Linked DNA regions of Homo sapiens: regions 2 and 3 are each linked to region 1. Evidence: promoter capture Hi-C in 16 types of primary human blood cells and fetal thymus (Javierre and others, 2016). All regions are on one chromosome and are shown on one strand. The core of a region is centred on a gene start or on the middle of the fragment in contact, and the rest is flanking DNA. Distances in the headings are between cores, read along the strand shown.

Region 1 (2,790 bases), core at 11-2,510:
CAAATCTTCTCATTTCTGGGTACCTCAACGTAATCCCTGATGAAAATAAAACTCTGAGATCGAGTTCGCCCTCCCTGACAGGGAGTTGTAAATACCAGGTACTTTTGAGAGCTTTCTAACTTAACGTGATTTTTTTCCATCAATAAAATGTCCATCTCTGTTTTAAAACATGATTTTAATTAAAAAATTCACTCTTTAATAAACAAGGCGTTTGACACCCTCCAAAGAAGTCTGCCTGAAGGCCCTGCCGTCTCTTAATTGTTATTATGTAACATCCTTTAAAGGGCTAAAGTATGAAGGTCAAGCGGGAACTGAAGCAGCAGTCAAGTCTTGTGATGCCGGGAGGAAGCGTCCAGTGAATCTCTAGTCTCTTATTTTCCAAAGTGGCAGCGAGAGGAGGGCGGCTCTGGGCGTTAAGGTGTTGGCCAGTTTAAAACCGCTCTGTGCTCCCAGGGAGCTTCTGTTCCTAAGGCTTCCCAAGCCAAGGCAGGAGGAAACGGCAGGGCTTTGAGAGCTGAGCAGCGGTGAGGTGGGAAAAGACCGAGGGCAGGGGTTTGGAAATACCGCATCCTGTGCTACACACAAAGAAAATGCTCACTTTGGGATGGGGCACTAGCAGTGTCGGCGGGTGCCAAGGGGCAACGACTAGAACTGGGAGTGCATTCTCCACAGGGTGACAGGCTCCTCTCTCCTGCGGCCAGCGCCACAAGCAGCGGGTTCCTGGCTGATCGGAGGGTGGGAACGGGGCTGCGGACCCCGTTGCGCTCCAGGAGGAGCGCCGGCCCTTACCTCGCCCGTCCGGCTTCATCAGCAGCGCGTGGCCCACCAGTGGGTAGGCGCGGGCCACCGTGGGGATGGGCCGCATCTGCTGCCATTTCCGCGCGTAGCTCGCCACCCTCTGCAGCAGGCTCAGGACCAGACTGGCGCCGGCCAGGGAAAGGGCACTCGCCGCGCCCCACAGCAGCAGCTTCTGCCACACGAGCCCCAGCCAGAGCCCCGCCATCGCCCCGGCTGGCGGCCGCGGGGTGCACTCCGGGAAAGTGCGGGCCCGCGGGGGCGTGGTGCGAGGCGGTGCCGGCCGCACACCGCCCACTTCCCCGCGCGGACCTGGCGCGCTCCCCGCTGCGGGGTCGCCCGGTCCCCGGAACGACGTTTCCCGCCCGGGCGGCGGCCAGAGAGGGCGCCACGGGGCTGTTCCTGCGCCCGGCCCGGCCTACGCAGCACCGCGGCCTCCACGCCCCAGCCGAAAGCGAAAGACCGGAAAACGGTTTCCGGGCCCCAGGGCGTAGTGATTGCACTGGAGGCCCGGAGGCTGCGCCGGGAGGAGGCCGGCGACACTTCCGGCCGCCTCCGGATGCGGGGTCAGGGGCGTCGGAAAGGTCACCGCGGCAGCCCGGCGCGCCCCAGCGGGGCTGTTCTGAGGGTGCTGCGAGGTTGCTCTACGTGCGGGATTCCGCGGGCGGGCAGCCTGCTCTGGAGAGGAAAGGAAGGCGCATCCGGCTCGGAGCCCAGCTCTGCTGCGCATCGCTCGCTCCCTGCGCAACTTGCAGCCCCGGGAGGCGGGGCGCGTCCTGGCTCCCGCGGGGTCACATGGAGCAGCGGGCGCTGTAATCCAGGGAGGCTTTGGGGACACGTTAGGGAAGTCAGCTACCCGTGTGTGTCCGCTGGCCCACTGGGACACTGGGAGCTCAATGAGGTGGTTATGAGCCAGGTATTTTCCAAAATACGCACCAGGCACCAGACCGAGGAAGCCGGAGCCCCGGAGAGCACGCAGGGGCGGGTGGGAGAGGAAGGCGGGCGAGGCTGCTCAGCGGGTGCCGGGAGACCGCAGCCGCGGGGTACTCGCAGAAGAGCCAAGACCTGCCACCCAGCCCGGGAAGGGAGGGAAGGGCCGCGAGAGGGTGCCCCATTTCAGCCTGGGGAGACGCGTGTGCTGGCCGCCAGTCTCTCTTCCCGGCAGAGGGCCCCAGTGCTGACCCCAGCCCCTTTTCCACGCTCGATGCTTCTTACAAAGTGGCCGGGCGAGGAGTGTCGCTCCCCGAGAGGCCAGGCCCTTCCTAAACACTAAAGTGCCAGGAAGATGAAACTGAATGTCCTGGATGCCCGCTTTGCTTAATTACTAATTACGTTCGTTCACTCGAAGCCACTGCATAAGTTGGCCACAGCCACCTGCAGGGCCTCTTTAGTGCAGAGAAAAACATGCCTAAGGCTTTTCTCCATTTGAATTTGTTTTAAGTCATCTGCATGGGCTGACGTGAAATAGCAAGTGAACAAAACAAGTTGCAGAACGGAGTGTGTAAAGTAATGCCTTCTTTTGGAGAAAAGGTTTCTTTCTCTACGGCTCCACTAATGTCTGCAAGTAAAAATACTGATCAGCTCTATGGAGTGGGAATGAAGATGGGGAACTTACGCTTTTTATTTCATTCACGTCTACATTGTTTAATCACTTTAACACTTTAAAAAATAAATATGTTCACTTAGTATCTTTAAGCAAGTCTCATGGGCTTTAGTTTCCTCCTCTCTAAAGGGTTGAGGCTGAGCTATAATAAGGTTAATTACAGCTATAAAAGTAAACAATTTGTCTACATACTGGGGATTCTAAAATAGGGGGAGGAAGGAAGGGGAGTAATGGTTGAAAAACTGTGTATTGGGTACTGTGTTCCCTATTCAGGTGAGGGGATCAATAGAAACTCAAACCTCAGCGTCAGGCAAATTTAACAAACCTGCACATGTGCTCTTGAATCTAAAATTAGAAAGAAAAAGGGTTTGTCTGTATCAGTCTCTGCTAAC
Region 2 (2,700 bases), core at 191-2,690, 2.7 Mb after region 1:
CAGAACTTGGGTTTTATCATTTTTAAGTGTCTAAGCCCTGGTACACTGAAAACAGTATAAGGAAATCACTAGATGATTCCCTCCCAAATCACCTTTTTGTACATTTGTCTCTAGCTTCCAAGTTATATACATTGCACATGATAGTCCCACTTCAGTAAAATGGTAGTCTTTAGTGTATTTACTACTTATATTGTTTAGTTTGGTTGCTTCCTAAGACCTCCAAGGATTCTGATTCTATTCAATAAAGTTTCAAATTCACAAAGTATTTCTGATTGCTTCTTAAGTACTGGCATATGTAATCTCTAGTTTTTACTCAAAATGTCCTGTATCCAACCCTTTGTGTTTAGTATTACTTTTTTTTTTTTTTTGACACGGAGTCTCACTCTGTCACCCAGGCTGGAGTGCAGTGGCACAATCATAGCTCACTGCAACCTCCACCTCCCAGGTTCAAGCGATTCTCCTATCTCAGCCTCCCAAGTAGCTGGGGTGACAGGCACGCACCACCACGCCCAGCTAATGTTGTAGTTTTATAAGATAAAGTTTCACCATTTTGGCCAGGCTGGTCTCAAACTCCTGACTTCAGGTGATCCGCCTGCCTTGGCCTCCCAAAGTGCTGGCATTACAGTTGTGGGCCACCATGCCCAACCTAGCATTACTTTTCTTTTTTCCCTTCAAAGTTAAAAGTCCATTTAGTTTGGGGCCTTGTCTACTCTTTTTCTTGCTAGATGAATAGCAAAGGAACAGAAAAAGAACTTTAAAAACTAATAATTTTCAGATAATGACTTTTAAAGGAGAAAAATCGGCTGGGCACAGTGGCTCACGCCTGTAATCCCAGCAATTTGGGAGGCTGAGGCAGGTGGATCACAAGATCAGGAGTTCGAGACCAACCTGACCAACATGGTGAAACCCCGTCTCTACTAAAAATACAAAAAAATTAGCTGGGTGTAGTGATGCACGCCTGTAATCCCAGCTACTCAGGAGGCTGAGGCAGGAGAATTGCTTGACCCCAAGAGGCCGAGGTTGCAGTGAGCCGAGATCACGCCACTGCACTCCAGCCTGGGTGACAGAGCAAGACTCCCTCTGTCTCAAAAAAAAAACAAACAAAAAAACAAAACAAAAACAAAAGGAGGAAAATCGAGAGATATTAAAATTAAAGTTGGTAGTAAGAAATGGTTCTAACTGGATGGCAACTAAGCTGTGTGCAGGGATGCCAAAGAAATATGATTGATATTTTTCTTGGGGAGGAATAGTTGGGCAATAAATGGCTTAACCCTTCATTCAACTTGAACATTTTGTTCTAGTAGAAAGTGAAATAGTTTATTCATCAATCACAGAAAATATTATTTAAAAATCATGCAGGAATGGATAACCAATGTCTAGAAAGTAGGTCAATATAGGACTTCAGCACAATTTTTGAGGACAAAGTCCACAAAGTAGTAACACAATACCTGTAGGACTGACCTGATTCCCAATTGCGGCTTGTTTTTGTTACTTTCTCACTGCTGTTACTCAAAAATCTAAACAGCAAGTAGAAATTTGTACCAAGAAAAGCTGCACTTGGCAGGGAAAACATAATTCAAATTGGAGCAGGCTCCTGATAATACATATCAAAGGCCTTAAAGTTACACATATCCCTATGACAATTATCCTAGCCAATGACAGCAGTGACAGGCTCCAAGAATTTAGGTCAAAAACTCATGACAGTATCATTCTTACAAGTCAACTAATTTTACCATTAAAAAAAAAATCTCATTCTAACATCAAGAAAAATCTTGATGTCTCAGGAAATCGTCTCCCCTCACTCATCTGAAAAAAGCAGTATATCCCATCTTGGTAGCCGACTTTATTCACTCAACTTGATTATACACTATTTTAGGCAGGTGTGTTTGGTTTTTTGGTTTTGGGGGGTTTTTTGTGCAGATTTCTTTTGTGTGTGTATGGTCTTTTTACAAAGTTCAACTGCATCCATATGGGATGATTCACTAGTTGAGGATATTCAAGATATGCAAGTATTAGAAGCATTAATAATAGAAGAGCCTCTGAAGTGACTCATTTCAAGGAGGCTTTAGAAAGATGCGGTCACTTAATCTGGTAAAAAATCACGTTCTGGGAGGGATTTTCAGAAATTTCAGCATATAGAGAAGTGACAAGGATAATAAGCAGTACAACATACTTGAGCTTGGGTTTTGAAATCAGATATGGGCTTGAATTATCTGACCGAATTACTCTGTGTAAGTTTCTCCATCTGAAAAGTAGGCCAAATGAGAAGAGCTCCTTGTAAGAGGAATAAGAATATATAAGTGAACCATGGGATATCTGCACCATGCCGGGCACTTTGAATGTATCATCTCATCTAACTGCCATGCTCTATGAGACAGCTATTAGTCCTATTTCACAGACGAAGTAAGGTTAAAAGGTTAAATTCCCAGAGGTTACATGTCTAGTAAGAGACAGCCAAGATTCACTCTCAATAATAGAATTCTAAAATATGCATTTCTCTTAAACCAGGATTCTTTAAATGTTATTAACCAAGAGCATTTTTCTAGGTTTTTAAATAGGATTATCATAAATGTACACTAAACAACTTCCTCCACATCAAAAGTCACTATAAAACATTCTCAATAACCTTCATAGTAACTTGAAACAAGCCAATTTAGGAAATTACCAAACCACCTAATTGGATATATTATATAAATTTAT
Region 3 (2,714 bases), core at 108-2,607, 2.8 Mb after region 1:
CTCTCAATTGGTTGTCTTTCAAGACAGAGATCATATATGCTTGAGTTACTGGTTCAGAGAGAGGAGATGTAATATACCCATTGGGGGATTGGGGGAAGAACTATTAGAAAAAAACTGAAAGTAATTCAAATCTAATTACTCAATTCTAAACATTTCAATTCTCTTATAACAGGGGTCCCCCCGCCACTACCTCCAACCCTGGGCCACACGGCAGGTGGTGAGCAGCTGGCAAGTGAGCAAAGCTTCATCTGTCTTTACGGCCACTTCCCATTGCTCGCATGACCACCTGAGCTCCACCTCCTGTCAGATCAGACAGGAGCGTTGGATTCTCACAGGAGTGAGAACCTTACTGTGAACTGTGCATGTGAGGGATCTGGGGTGTGTGCTCCTTATGAGAATCTAATGCCTGATGATCTGTCACTGTCTCCCATCACCCAGATGGGACCATCTAGTTGTAGAAAACAAACTCAGGGATCCCACTGATTCTACCTTATGGTAAGTGTATAATTATTTCATTATATATTACAATGTAATCATAATAGAAATAAAGTGCGCAACAAACATCATGTGCTTGAATCATCCTGAAACCACCCGCCGACCCCCCTTCCATGGAAAAAGTGTCTTCCATGAAACCGGTCCCTGGTGCCAAAAAAGTGGGGGACTGCTGTCTTACGACATCATAGATTCATGGAATTCTTTTATAGGCAGGTTCCTTGGGGGTAACTGAAGCTGTTTCCTCGTTTTTAGGAAATTTAGGAAAGACTAGGAAATTGAGGCTCAGAGAGGCCATTTAGCAGTGACTAACACAATTTCCAGGTCAGTATTGTTTCTACGAGCCCTGGTCTCCAGAAGAGAAAAGGCTAGTCAGGACTACCACTTGAAGTCCCCTAGTCGGATACAAAGAAAGGATCCAGGATCCAAGTTGATTTACAGTTAAACTCACTTGGGGAATTCACAATGCTTAAAAGGCAAGAAGAAAACAACGCAAGACTGTACATACCACAGTATGAAAAATCTTAACCACATAGCAGCACCTCCTTCAGAGCCACACTGGCCACTGCTGTGCGACTCCCTCCCCTGGCCTCCCCCTCACCCCGAGGTTTCAGCATGGAGACCCACGTAGGCCCATGGGGAGAGCTGTGTGGAGCTTGGGAACTGTATTTAGTCTCCTTCCTTCTGGGGCCTTTTACATTTAAAAATGCAATTTCGGCCGGCGCAGTGGCTCATGCCTATAATCACAGCACTTTGGGAGGCCAAGGTGGGCGTGTCACCTAGGTCAGCCGTTCAAGACCAGCCTGGCCAACATGGCGAAACCCCATCTCTACTAAAAATATACATATATTTTTACACACATATATATATACACACACACTCAAAAATTAGCCAGGTGCGGTGGTGCGTGCGCGTGTAATCCCAGCTACTTGGGAGGCTGAGGCAGGAGAATCACTTGAACCCGGGAGGTGGAGGTTGCAGTGAGCCGAGATGGTACCATTGCACTCCAGCCTGGGCAACTGAGTGAGGCTGTCTCAAAAAAAAAAAAAGAAAAGAAAAGAAAAAGAGAGAGAGAAATGCAATTTTATTCTTACGACTTTCTGGAAGCAAGAATGTGATTTTGAACATTCTAAAGAAAATTTTTATAAAGGAATGTGAGAAAGCAACAAGATAATGTTGGCTGCTGTGGTATTAAAATTCTTAAAAAGTAAAAGCACTGTAGAAATATAAGGTATATCATTCTACTTATTTTGTTCCAGAATAATATGCATGATATTAGGTTAGCTTTTTCCATAGGAGGCCATTTTTTTCTGGGTATGGTGATACCACTCTCGATGAAGCTGAGCATGAGCCTCAGTAGCTTCGAGTGTGAATATAACCTTTTTGTGAACTCTGTCACATTACTGAGTATAGAATCTGCTCCTGGATGTTTTAGTTTCTCCCAGGGTTAGCGAGAGACTTTCATTTCTTCTTTGTGCTTTCCTCACTCTCAGGAATCACAGGGAAGCTGTGATTGTTCTAGGCGTTAGTTCTTTATTAGTGCTCAATCTGCTTAACACTCCTCTTGTGTGCCGCCTTTGAAGTCTCAAGAAATCTCCTGCCTGGCAGGAAGTGCCAGAGGCCCAAACAGTGCAAAGGAAATCACACCCATGGCGGCCTCTCCAAAGTGCAGGCCTGGGGCTCAGTCCATTTCTCCTGGTCGTTCTCACAGTTCTGGATTCAGAAGGGAGGAGAGAGGCAGTGGGGGGCGCTATGCATTCCTAAGGGATTGCATTCGAGTCTGCTGACCAGGCCCTGAGCTCCCCTGAGGCCAGTAAACCTCTGGCCGGTAAACCCCTGCTCCTGGGGGGCTGAGAAAGCCGTCCTTCTTGGTGCAGACCCTACCCAGCCCTATGTCTTAAGAGTCCCTTCTCTCTGCTGTCCCACAGTCAAGCCAGCCCTGCTCTGCCTGCTCTGCCCTGCCCATGGAGAAAAGCTTCCAAGCCTACGAGGATCTCCTTCTCACCATGCCAGCTGTTTGACCTCAAGGGAGTTACTTAACCTTTCTGAGCCTTGCTTACTTCATCTGTAAAATGGGACAACAGTGGTGACTACCTCTTAGGATTGTTGTGAGGATAAAACGAGATAATCCAAAAACTGGCCAGGTGTTGTGGCATACGCCTGTAGTCCCAGCTACTCGAGAGGCTGAGGTGAGAGGATCGCTTGAGCCCAGGTGGTCGAGG

What was found. Contacts are between HindIII fragments. The CHiCAGO score rates a contact against its expected background, and 5 or more counts as called.
Region 2: a contact is called between a fragment that was not itself captured here and the fragment with the promoter of CYP4V2 in region 1, in 1 of 17 cell types (non-activated CD4 T cells). The highest score is 5.5, in non-activated CD4 T cells.
Region 3: a contact is called between a fragment that was not itself captured here and the fragment with the promoter of CYP4V2 in region 1, in 1 of 17 cell types (activated CD4 T cells). The highest score is 5.7, in activated CD4 T cells.

Annotation. Positions count from the first base shown.
Region 1 is chr4:186,190,037-186,192,826 of GRCh38, reverse strand. CYP4V2 (cytochrome P450 family 4 subfamily V member 2) reads right to left here and starts at 1,260. Exons shown (of 11, transcript NM_207352.4): 1 at 790-1,260. The coding sequence starts at 1,003. FLJ38576 (a long non-coding RNA gene) reads left to right here and starts at 1,337. Exons shown (of 1, transcript NR_046264.1): 1 at 1,337-2,790. RefSeq lists a silencer at 934-1,463. The HindIII fragment of the contact is 5,614 bases long and covers 1-2,790 here.
Region 2 is chr4:183,449,042-183,451,741 of GRCh38, reverse strand. CDKN2AIP (CDKN2A interacting protein) reads right to left here. Exons shown (of 3, transcript NM_017632.4): 3 at 2,678-2,700. Among named protein-coding and RNA genes, the nearest start is that of CDKN2AIP, 5.8 kb to the right of the region's middle. The HindIII fragment of the contact is 4,907 bases long and covers 1-2,700 here.
Region 3 is chr4:183,430,285-183,432,998 of GRCh38, reverse strand. No RefSeq gene overlaps it. Among named protein-coding and RNA genes, the nearest start is that of CDKN2AIP, 13 kb to the left of the region's middle. RefSeq lists enhancers at 1,493-2,243, 2,244-2,714. The HindIII fragment of the contact is 2,225 bases long and covers 245-2,469 here.